Linked DNA regions of Homo sapiens: region 1 is linked to region 2. Evidence: promoter capture Hi-C in 16 types of primary human blood cells and fetal thymus (Javierre and others, 2016). All regions are on one chromosome and are shown on one strand. Each heading gives the region's core, a stretch centred on a gene start or on the middle of the fragment in contact. The rest is flanking DNA. Distances are from core to core; before and after follow the strand shown. Region 1 overlaps MROH9 (maestro heat like repeat family member 9). Region 2 holds the start of FMO4 (flavin containing dimethylaniline monoxygenase 4).

Region 1 (4,355 bases), core at 1,682-4,181, 360 kb after region 2:
GCCAAGGTGGGAGGATTGCTAGAGTTCAGGAGTTTGAGACCAGCTTGGACAACATAGTGAGAACTCATCTCTATAAAACAAAACAAAACAAAAATTAGCCAGGTATGGTGGTGCATGTCTGTAGTCCTAGCTACTTGAGAGGCTGAGATGGAAGGATTGCTTGAGTCCAGAAGGTGGAGACTGCAGTGAGCCAAGATAGTGCCACTGAACTCTAGTTTGGGTGAAGGAGCAAGACCCTGTCTCAAACAAAACAAAACGAAACCAAATATTGAATACATTTTATATGTAAATAGATGGAAACAGTAAGATTTATTGTTCCACACACTATGTAGGTACTAGAAATTGTATGCTATGTGGGTATTGGAAATTTCCATGTGTGAGTAGCTGATATATAAAATATATGTAACATTAATAAACATGGGGCATTTGGATGATGAAATGCTATATAACAACACATTTTTTTCTTTCTTTCTAGTATTGGAAGAAGACTTTTATTTAACTCAGAAGTTATTTTTCTTCTCCCAACTACCAGAGTGGTCTTCACCAGTAAAAAGTAAAAGTATCTCTGGGTATCCTCAGGTAGCCACTCAGGAATATTTGGAAGAAGTCCAGTTGGAAAATAATGGCACATTTGTAAAAAAATAGCAGCCTACAAATCTGTGTTAGGGATACAGGAACATAGCTGAGAAAGTTTCTACATTAAAGTCACCTTGCATCAATTGCAGACGAGGCTGAAATTCTCTGAGATGTGTATAGAAGCTCTTATAAAAAGAAACAATTAGCCTGATAGTTTTGCATCTGAGTGTTGTACATTCTCTCCACAAACTGAAGAAAGGAGAGAGGTGGCTATGCTGAGACCTCACTTTATATCATATGCCATGAATTTCTTCTCTAGCTTATAGAGCAAGTTCACTGTATAGCAATGCTGAAGAAATGGAGACCGCAGATGTTTGCTAATTTTACTATAGGATTCTTTCTACTTCCATCTTTCCATGTTCCTATTCCATTCTTTGAAGCACTTGCCAGCAAACTCCCTATTCTTGCTAAACCAATTAACCAAAAATATCTTCGCCTATTTGCTCCTACAAATCCTATAGAATCCATTAAAATCCCATGGGTTGTAGAACTCACAAGGAGTCCAGTGGTATAGATTAGTGCCCTGACTGTTATAACTAAAAAGAGTGAAGAGGAGGACCCTAAAGATTATCACCTGCTGAGTCACATTCTGCAGGATTGCTGTGATGTGTAATAACATCCTATAATGATTAAAGGAAGAAAAATTTTACCTCCATGTCCTCAATGTACTCATAACTGCTCCCCATTTCTTTTACTTTGTCAAGACTTGGCATGACAACTAGCATTCCAAAGGATGACTCTATTATCTTCAACTGAGATTCAAACTGCAGTAAGGGATCCACAAAGCTGACAAGAAAAAGGAGCAATTATTAATGATGAGAAAACAAATATAATAGAAATTTAGTGGGCTTTATTTATTTATTTATTTATTTTGAGACAGAGTCTCGCTCTGTCACCCAGGCTGGAGTGCAGTGGTGCCATCTCGGCTCACTGCAAGCTCCACCTCCCGGGTTCACACCATTCTCCTGCCTCAGCCTCCTGAGTAGCTGGGACTACAGGCGCCCGCCACCACGCCTGGCTAATTTTTTGTATTTTCAGTAGAGACGGGGTTTCACCATGTTAGCTAGGATGGTCTCGATCTCCTGACCTCATGATCCGCCCGCCTCAGCCTCCCAAAGTGCTGGGATTAGAGGTGTGAGCCACCGTGCCTGGCCCAGCCATTTCTTAGTGATAAGCAAAAATGAGGTTCAGCTTTTGGCTTTGTATGACAGATGAGTCTTAAATATTCTCTTAAAAATGATAATAATGTTGTAAAAATAAAGGAATTAATTTCTTTGCAAATATTATCTATAAACAGTTATGTAGAAATCAGAATATATTTCTCCATAAACATAATAATGCAAAGAGTGGTTACATTCCCAGCCAAGTCCACAAAGCCATGCTAAGCTTTAAACAGTTGAGATATATTACTGACCCATTTTCTGTAATCAATGATAATATGTTTTTCACATCTTAGTATTTCTTACATTGAGATGCATCTTCAAACTGATGGCAAATGAAGCTTGCCTCAGCAGCTAGAAAGATTATCTGCTTGTCTACGCAATACAAAAAGACTGGGAAAGAGTATAAGAAAGAAATAGTAGTCACCAAATTATGATGGTGAAGTTTGGAGTAATTTCTTATCTTTCACAATTGCATGTTTTTAAAGATATAACATTTTAAATGCATCCAATTAGTGAAATAAAAGAGCATGATAGCTTATCATACCTGGAGTTCACAGCCAGGATCATGGATTCATTACTTAACAGGCCTGAGTATGCATCCAATAGGCTGTTAACTTTATGTGCCTAAGTACCATGTTAAAAAAAAAAAAAAAAAGAAGAATTAATGATTACAGAGCAGTGAGACTCATAATAGCATGTGCACTTCTTCCTTTTACAGAGACTAAAGGAACCAAATCAGACTGGAAAACATGCTCAAGAGTTCATAGAAGTGTTGAGACCAAACTGTAATTTAAATCTACAATAGTATGTTTGCCTAAGTGGAGGTCTTTTACAGTCAACCACTATGCTTATACAATTTGCATTTCCAGACAGCACTTTGTAAGGTGTGCTCTTTACCAGATGCACTTCTGTACACCACTATAACTATTAAGTCCCATCTACACAGTGTGGAGTCTACCTATAAAAATGCCAGCAGCGCCGGGCGTGGTGGCTCACGCCTGTAATCCCAGCACTTTGGGAGGCCGAGGCGGGGGGACCACGAGGTCAGGAGATCGAGACCATCCTGGCTAATACGGTGAAACCCCGTCTCTACTAAAAATAGAAAAAAATTAGCCGGGCGTGGTAGCGGGCGCCTGTAGTCCCAGCTACTCGGGAGACCGAGGCAGGAGAATGGCGTGAACCCGGGAGGCAGAGCTTGCAGTGAGCCGAGATGGCCCCACTGCACTCCAGCCTGGGTGACAGAGAGAGACTCTGTCTCAAAAAAAACAAACAAACAAAAAAAAAAAAAACAAAAAAATGCCAGCAGGGCAACTTAAGTCAGGCCTTATTAAAGAATGACTAAACTTACACTATGGAATGAGAATTTAGCCTTTAAAAGTGGTAATTAAAGGGATTCCACTAAGAATGTATCATTCTTTTTTTCCAAGAAACTGGAGAACTAGACCTCCAATAGCCAAAACAATCTTAAGAAAGAACATGGAGGTCTTACAGTTATGATTTCAAGCTATAATACAAAAGTAATTAAAATTGTAGGGACTGCTATAAAAACAGACTCATAGACAAATTGAATGAAATAAAAAGCCCAGAAATAAATCTATTAATATATGGTCAAGTAATCTTTGATAAGGGAGACAAGAATTCACAATGGGCAAAGGACAGTCTCTTCAATAAATGATGTTGGGAAAACTGAATGTCCATAAGCAAATAAATGAAATGGGACCCTTATCTTTTACCATATACAAAAGTTGATTTGAAATGGGTTAAAGACAAATGTAAAGAAGTGAAACTGTAAAACACCTAGAAGAAAACATAGGGAAAGAGCTTATTTACATTAGTTTCGGTGAAGATTTTTTGGATATGACGTAAAAAGCACAGGCAACAAAAGCAAAATTAAACAAGTGGGACTACATCAAACTAACAAGCTTCTGCACAGCAAAGAGAACAATTAATAAAATTAGAAAGACAACCTATGGAATGGGATAAAATATTTGTAAAACATAAATCAGATAAGGGGTTAATATCCAAAATGTATAAGAAACTCATGATTCAATGGCAAAAAAAAAAAAAAGCAGATAATCCAATTACAAATGGGCAAAAGACCTGAATAAAACTTTTTCCAAAAAATACATACAAAAAGCAGTCCCTCTGAGAACTGGAACAAGACAAGGATGCCCACTCTCACCACTCCTCTTCAACATAGTACTGGAAGTCCTAGCCAGAGAAATCAGGCAGGAGAAAGAAATAAAGGGCATCCAAATCTGTAAAGAAGTCAAACGGTCACTGTTTGCTGACGATGTGATCGTTTACCTTGAAGACCCTAAAGACTCCTCCAGAAAGCTCCTAGAGCTGATAAAAGAATTCAGCAAAGTTTCCAGATACAAGATTAATGTACACAAATCAGTAGCTCTTCTATATACCAACAGCGACCAAGGGGAGAATCAAATCGAGAACTCAACCCCTTTTACAATGGCTGCAAAAAAAAAAAAAAACAAAAAAAAAAAAGGAAAGAGAAAAACAAACCAACAACAACTTAGGAATATACCTAACCAAGTAGTC
Region 2 (4,014 bases), core at 989-3,488:
CTTGTCTCCTGTCTTCCTTCTCTTCTCCTTGGAAAAGACAGTTCATACAGATAAAATGTATCAACAAGTTTGGAAAGGAGTAGGCAGACATACCTGTGTTTTCCTTTGAGTTGAGGAGTAGGAGGTTTAGACAGCTTCTAATCAGAAACAAATGGCCTCCACCAATAAGAATACTTGAATTTCCAGGCCACTAGGTAGAGGCCTGGGGCTGGCAGATCTTTGCTGTGCTCTATCTCTGCAATCATAAGGTAAAAAGAAATGACTGCTAACTGAATTGCCAAAGTGAAAAATATACTGACGTGAATAGACTGGAAGCAAATTAATTCATTCAACAAATATGCCCTGGGTACCTCTAAGTGCAGGTCCTAAGCTAAGTATGGGGCCCTGAAGATAATGAAGACCCTGCAACTAAGAAATAGTAGTAAAGTCTTAGAATTTAAAAAAGACCGTGACTGCTCTTAAGATGTTGTATATGGAGAGGCTGATACTACCTTGTGCTAAGTCCTATGGTAGCAGCATGCTCTAGGCATGAATGCTTGCACTCTCCTGGCCTGTTTATTATCCCTGTCTAGAGACCTAGTTAGTGACACAGAGTGGCCTGTGGGGTTAAAAACGTGCTGGGCAAAAGCACTTTAAGGACTGACTTAGAGACTCTACAGGCAGTAGAAACAAATTGGGAATTAGCACCTTTTAAAATTAATCCGTATTTACAGACTATAAATTTCTGAATGGGAGCAACCTTTTTAAATTTTGCCTTGAGTCAGTAGAGGAAGGTAGTGAGTGAACTGGAAATTGAGAGATCTGAGTTCTAGTTCTGCTTCTGCCTCTAAGCAGCTTGTAACCCTGGACACAATTCTCAATTTCTCTGAGCCAGTGCTTCCACATTTGTAAAACAGAGGGTTCAAGTGGCTTTCTCTTTGTTTCCTTCAAGCTTGAAAGGACTGTTCTTATGTCTGAAAACCAAGTAATTGGTGCACAAAAAAAAAAAGATATGAATTCAAAGGTAGGCGAGAATACTGCAGGCTTGAAGGATTGGGAGAACGTGTGTGCAAACTCTGCAAACTATAAAGTGGACTTCATAAGGTACTTGGTTGCTCAAAGGTGCTTATATTTATTTATTTATTTATTTGAGTTGGAGTCTCACTCTGTCTTCCAGGCTGGAATGCAGTGGCACAATTTCGGCTCACTGCAACCTCCACCTCCTGGGTTCAAGTGATTCTCCTGCCTCAGCCTCCTGAGTAGCTGAGACTACAGGCAGGCGGCACCACGCCTGGATAATTTTTGTATTTTTAGTAGAGACGGGGTTTCACCATGTTGGTCAGGCTGGTCTCAAACTCCTGATCTCAAGTGGTCTGCCCTCCTCGGCTTTCCAAAGTGCTGGGATTACAGGCGTGAGCCACCGTGCCAGCCATAGGTTGCTTATATTTAGTCCCTTGGCAGAAAGGAGACCTGACCTATTGAACTAGACCTTTGTACAACGGGAAAACCCCACCCTATACCTGACTGACCAGCAAATGTAGGAATCCTTTATGAGACATGGAGAGACTTGGGTGATTTGCAAATCATGTAATCAATTATGATTTCTTTGAATTTGAAATTTGATCATTTTATGTTTCTTATCATCATCCTACCATGCTCTTGCTTTGTTACAGTATTTTTTTCCCACGCCATCTATGGGGTATTTGTTTCCCAATGGCTGGCATTTCCATCTCATTCATAAGATGAAATCAGAGGTCACTGGAGTCACTGAAAGTCTCATGATTCTGTTTATCTCACTGACACTTTCCTTTTGGATGGTTCTGTCCACAACATAACTTTGTTTCCTTACAACTTCCCTTTGCTTCCTGACTCTCTCCTTAATTCTCTTGCTTTAGCCCTAGTCAAGAGACCCCAAAAGAAGATAATCACATTCATTCTTAAGGAACACACTCCAAGAAAAACATTCATCTTTTGTGAAAGCAGTTTCTGGATCATTTCCCCATTAAAAAAAAAATCCAGGACACTTACCTTGGTTAGCATAGAGCAGATTCTTTGACTTAAATTATTTCTCAAAGTCAAGGAAAGTGTTTGTCTTTTTTTTTTAAAAAAGCTCAAAACCCAAATTCTTTTTTCTGAAAGAAAAATAAATGGAAAGATGACTTTTGTAAAAGTGCCCTCAGTTTAAAACAAAAGCCATTCGTCTTTTCTGTTATGCTAGTGACAGCAGAAAGTATACAGACTAAGGAAAAAAAGTTGTGTAAGAGGCAAGCGTGATACTTCCGTGATCTTAAGGGAGGGCGGAATGGTGAGTTAGAATACAGCTGTTGGATTGGCAGAACATAAACGCTTCCTGCCCCTTTACCCCACCCTCCTCAACGTCATAGTTCTGGCAAAGCCCTAAAGCTATGGGAAGCACATGATAGCGTCGCTTTTGCCATTATAGTCTGTAGAGGGCGCCAAATCACCCCAAATTACAGCTTTCTCAGCGAAACAGGAGTTCTACTTTTGGAAACAAACTTCTACACCCTGACTCTTGCTTGGATTACCATAGGAGCTGTCCAAAGGAGAAAGTTATTTAGATGACCATTACCTCATCAAGTTCTTTCATGCTTGGAGTTCTCCAACCCCAGAAATGTGATTTTAAAGTTCAGGACTTACAAGGAATTTAAGCTGTTTTGTCCTTCAGATTGGATCAGCAGAGGGAGCTGGTGAAATGTGTTTGAGAAAGCATAAAGCTATTTTTAGATATTAACCTAGGGCACAAGAAAGGTAATAATTATAGAAGCTGTGGCAGAAATAGAAAACTTAACTGTTTTTCCTTCCACTGTGTGCTTGTAAGATAATATAACAGACCATCTTTAGGACTTGTGTTTAGGGACATTTTCCAACATGGTTCACTGAACAATTTCTAAACCACATTTGCTTGTGACTACACATGCAAATGCCTACAGGAGTGAGGAGGGTAACATACACGAGGAAAGTGGGCCAGATATGATCTGACTGGAAAGTACTTTCTCTGTCTATTCAGTTCAGCTAAATGTTGCTATTTGAGAAAATGAGCCCAATATGGCAAGGCCTTAGGTTCTTTTCAGTAAAAGCTGCAAATACAGATTTTAATATAAAATCTTCTGTTGGCAGCAAATATTTTCTTTTGAAAAATATCATGGAATATTATGCAGCCATAAAAAGAAATAAGATCATGTCCTTTGCAGGGACATGGATGAAGCTGGAAGCCATCATCCTCAGCAAACTAACACAGGAACAGAAAACCAAACACTGCATGTTCTCACTCATAAGTGGGAGTTGAACAATGAGAACACATGGACACAGAGAGGGGAATGTTGTAGGGCCTGTTGTAGGGTAGGGGGTGAGGAGAGGGAACTTAGAGGAGAACAGGTCAATAGGTGCAGCAAATCACCATGGCACACGTGTACCTATGCAACAAACCTGCACGTTCTGCACATGCATCCCACTTTTTTTTAGAAGAAATAAAGAAAAAAATTTAAAAAAAGAAAAAAAAATATTGTGTCCAGAGTTAGTTCCTTCCGGTGGGTTCCTGGTCTCCCTGACTTCAAGAATGGAGCTGCGGACCTTTGTGGTGAGTGTTACAGTTCTTAAAAGATGGCACAGACCCAAAGAGTGAGCAGCAGCAAGATTTATTGTGAAGAGCGAAAGAACAAAGCTTCCACAGAGTGGAAGGGGACCCGAGCCAGTTGCTGCCGCTGGCTGGGGTGGCCAGCTTTCTCTTATTTGTCCCCTCCCATGTCCTGTTTCTGTCTTATCAGAATGCCCTTTTCTCAATTCTCCCCACGATTGGTTACTTTTAGAATCCTGCTGATTGATCCATTTTACAGAGCGCTGATTGGTCCATTTTACAGAGCACTGATTGGTCCATTTTACAGAGAACTGATTGGTGCATTTTACAAACTTCTTGCTAGCTACAGAGCACTGATTGGTGCATTTTACAATCCTCTTGTAAGACAGAAAAGTTCTCCAAGTCTCTACTCGACCCAGGAAGTCCAGCTGGCTTCACCT

The links. The method cuts DNA at HindIII sites, captures the fragments that hold promoters and counts their contacts. A CHiCAGO score of 5 or more calls a contact.
Region 1: a contact is called between a fragment that was not itself captured here and the fragment with the promoter of FMO4 in region 2, in 3 of 17 cell types (naive B cells, non-activated CD4 T cells and total B cells). The highest score is 5.9, in naive B cells.

Annotation. Positions count from the first base shown.
Region 1 is chr1:170,956,529-170,960,883 of GRCh38, reverse strand. MROH9 (maestro heat like repeat family member 9) reads right to left here. Exons shown (of 22, transcript NM_001163629.2): 4 at 2,344-2,423; 5 at 1,287-1,422. Among named protein-coding and RNA genes, the nearest start is that of MROH9, 23 kb to the right of the region's middle. The HindIII fragment of the contact is 1,584 bases long and covers 2,140-3,723 here.
Region 2 is chr1:171,312,407-171,316,420 of GRCh38, reverse strand. FMO4 (flavin containing dimethylaniline monoxygenase 4) reads right to left here and starts at 2,238. Exons shown (of 10, transcript NM_002022.3): 1 at 2,008-2,238; 2 at 94-235. The HindIII fragment of the contact is 2,730 bases long and covers 934-3,663 here.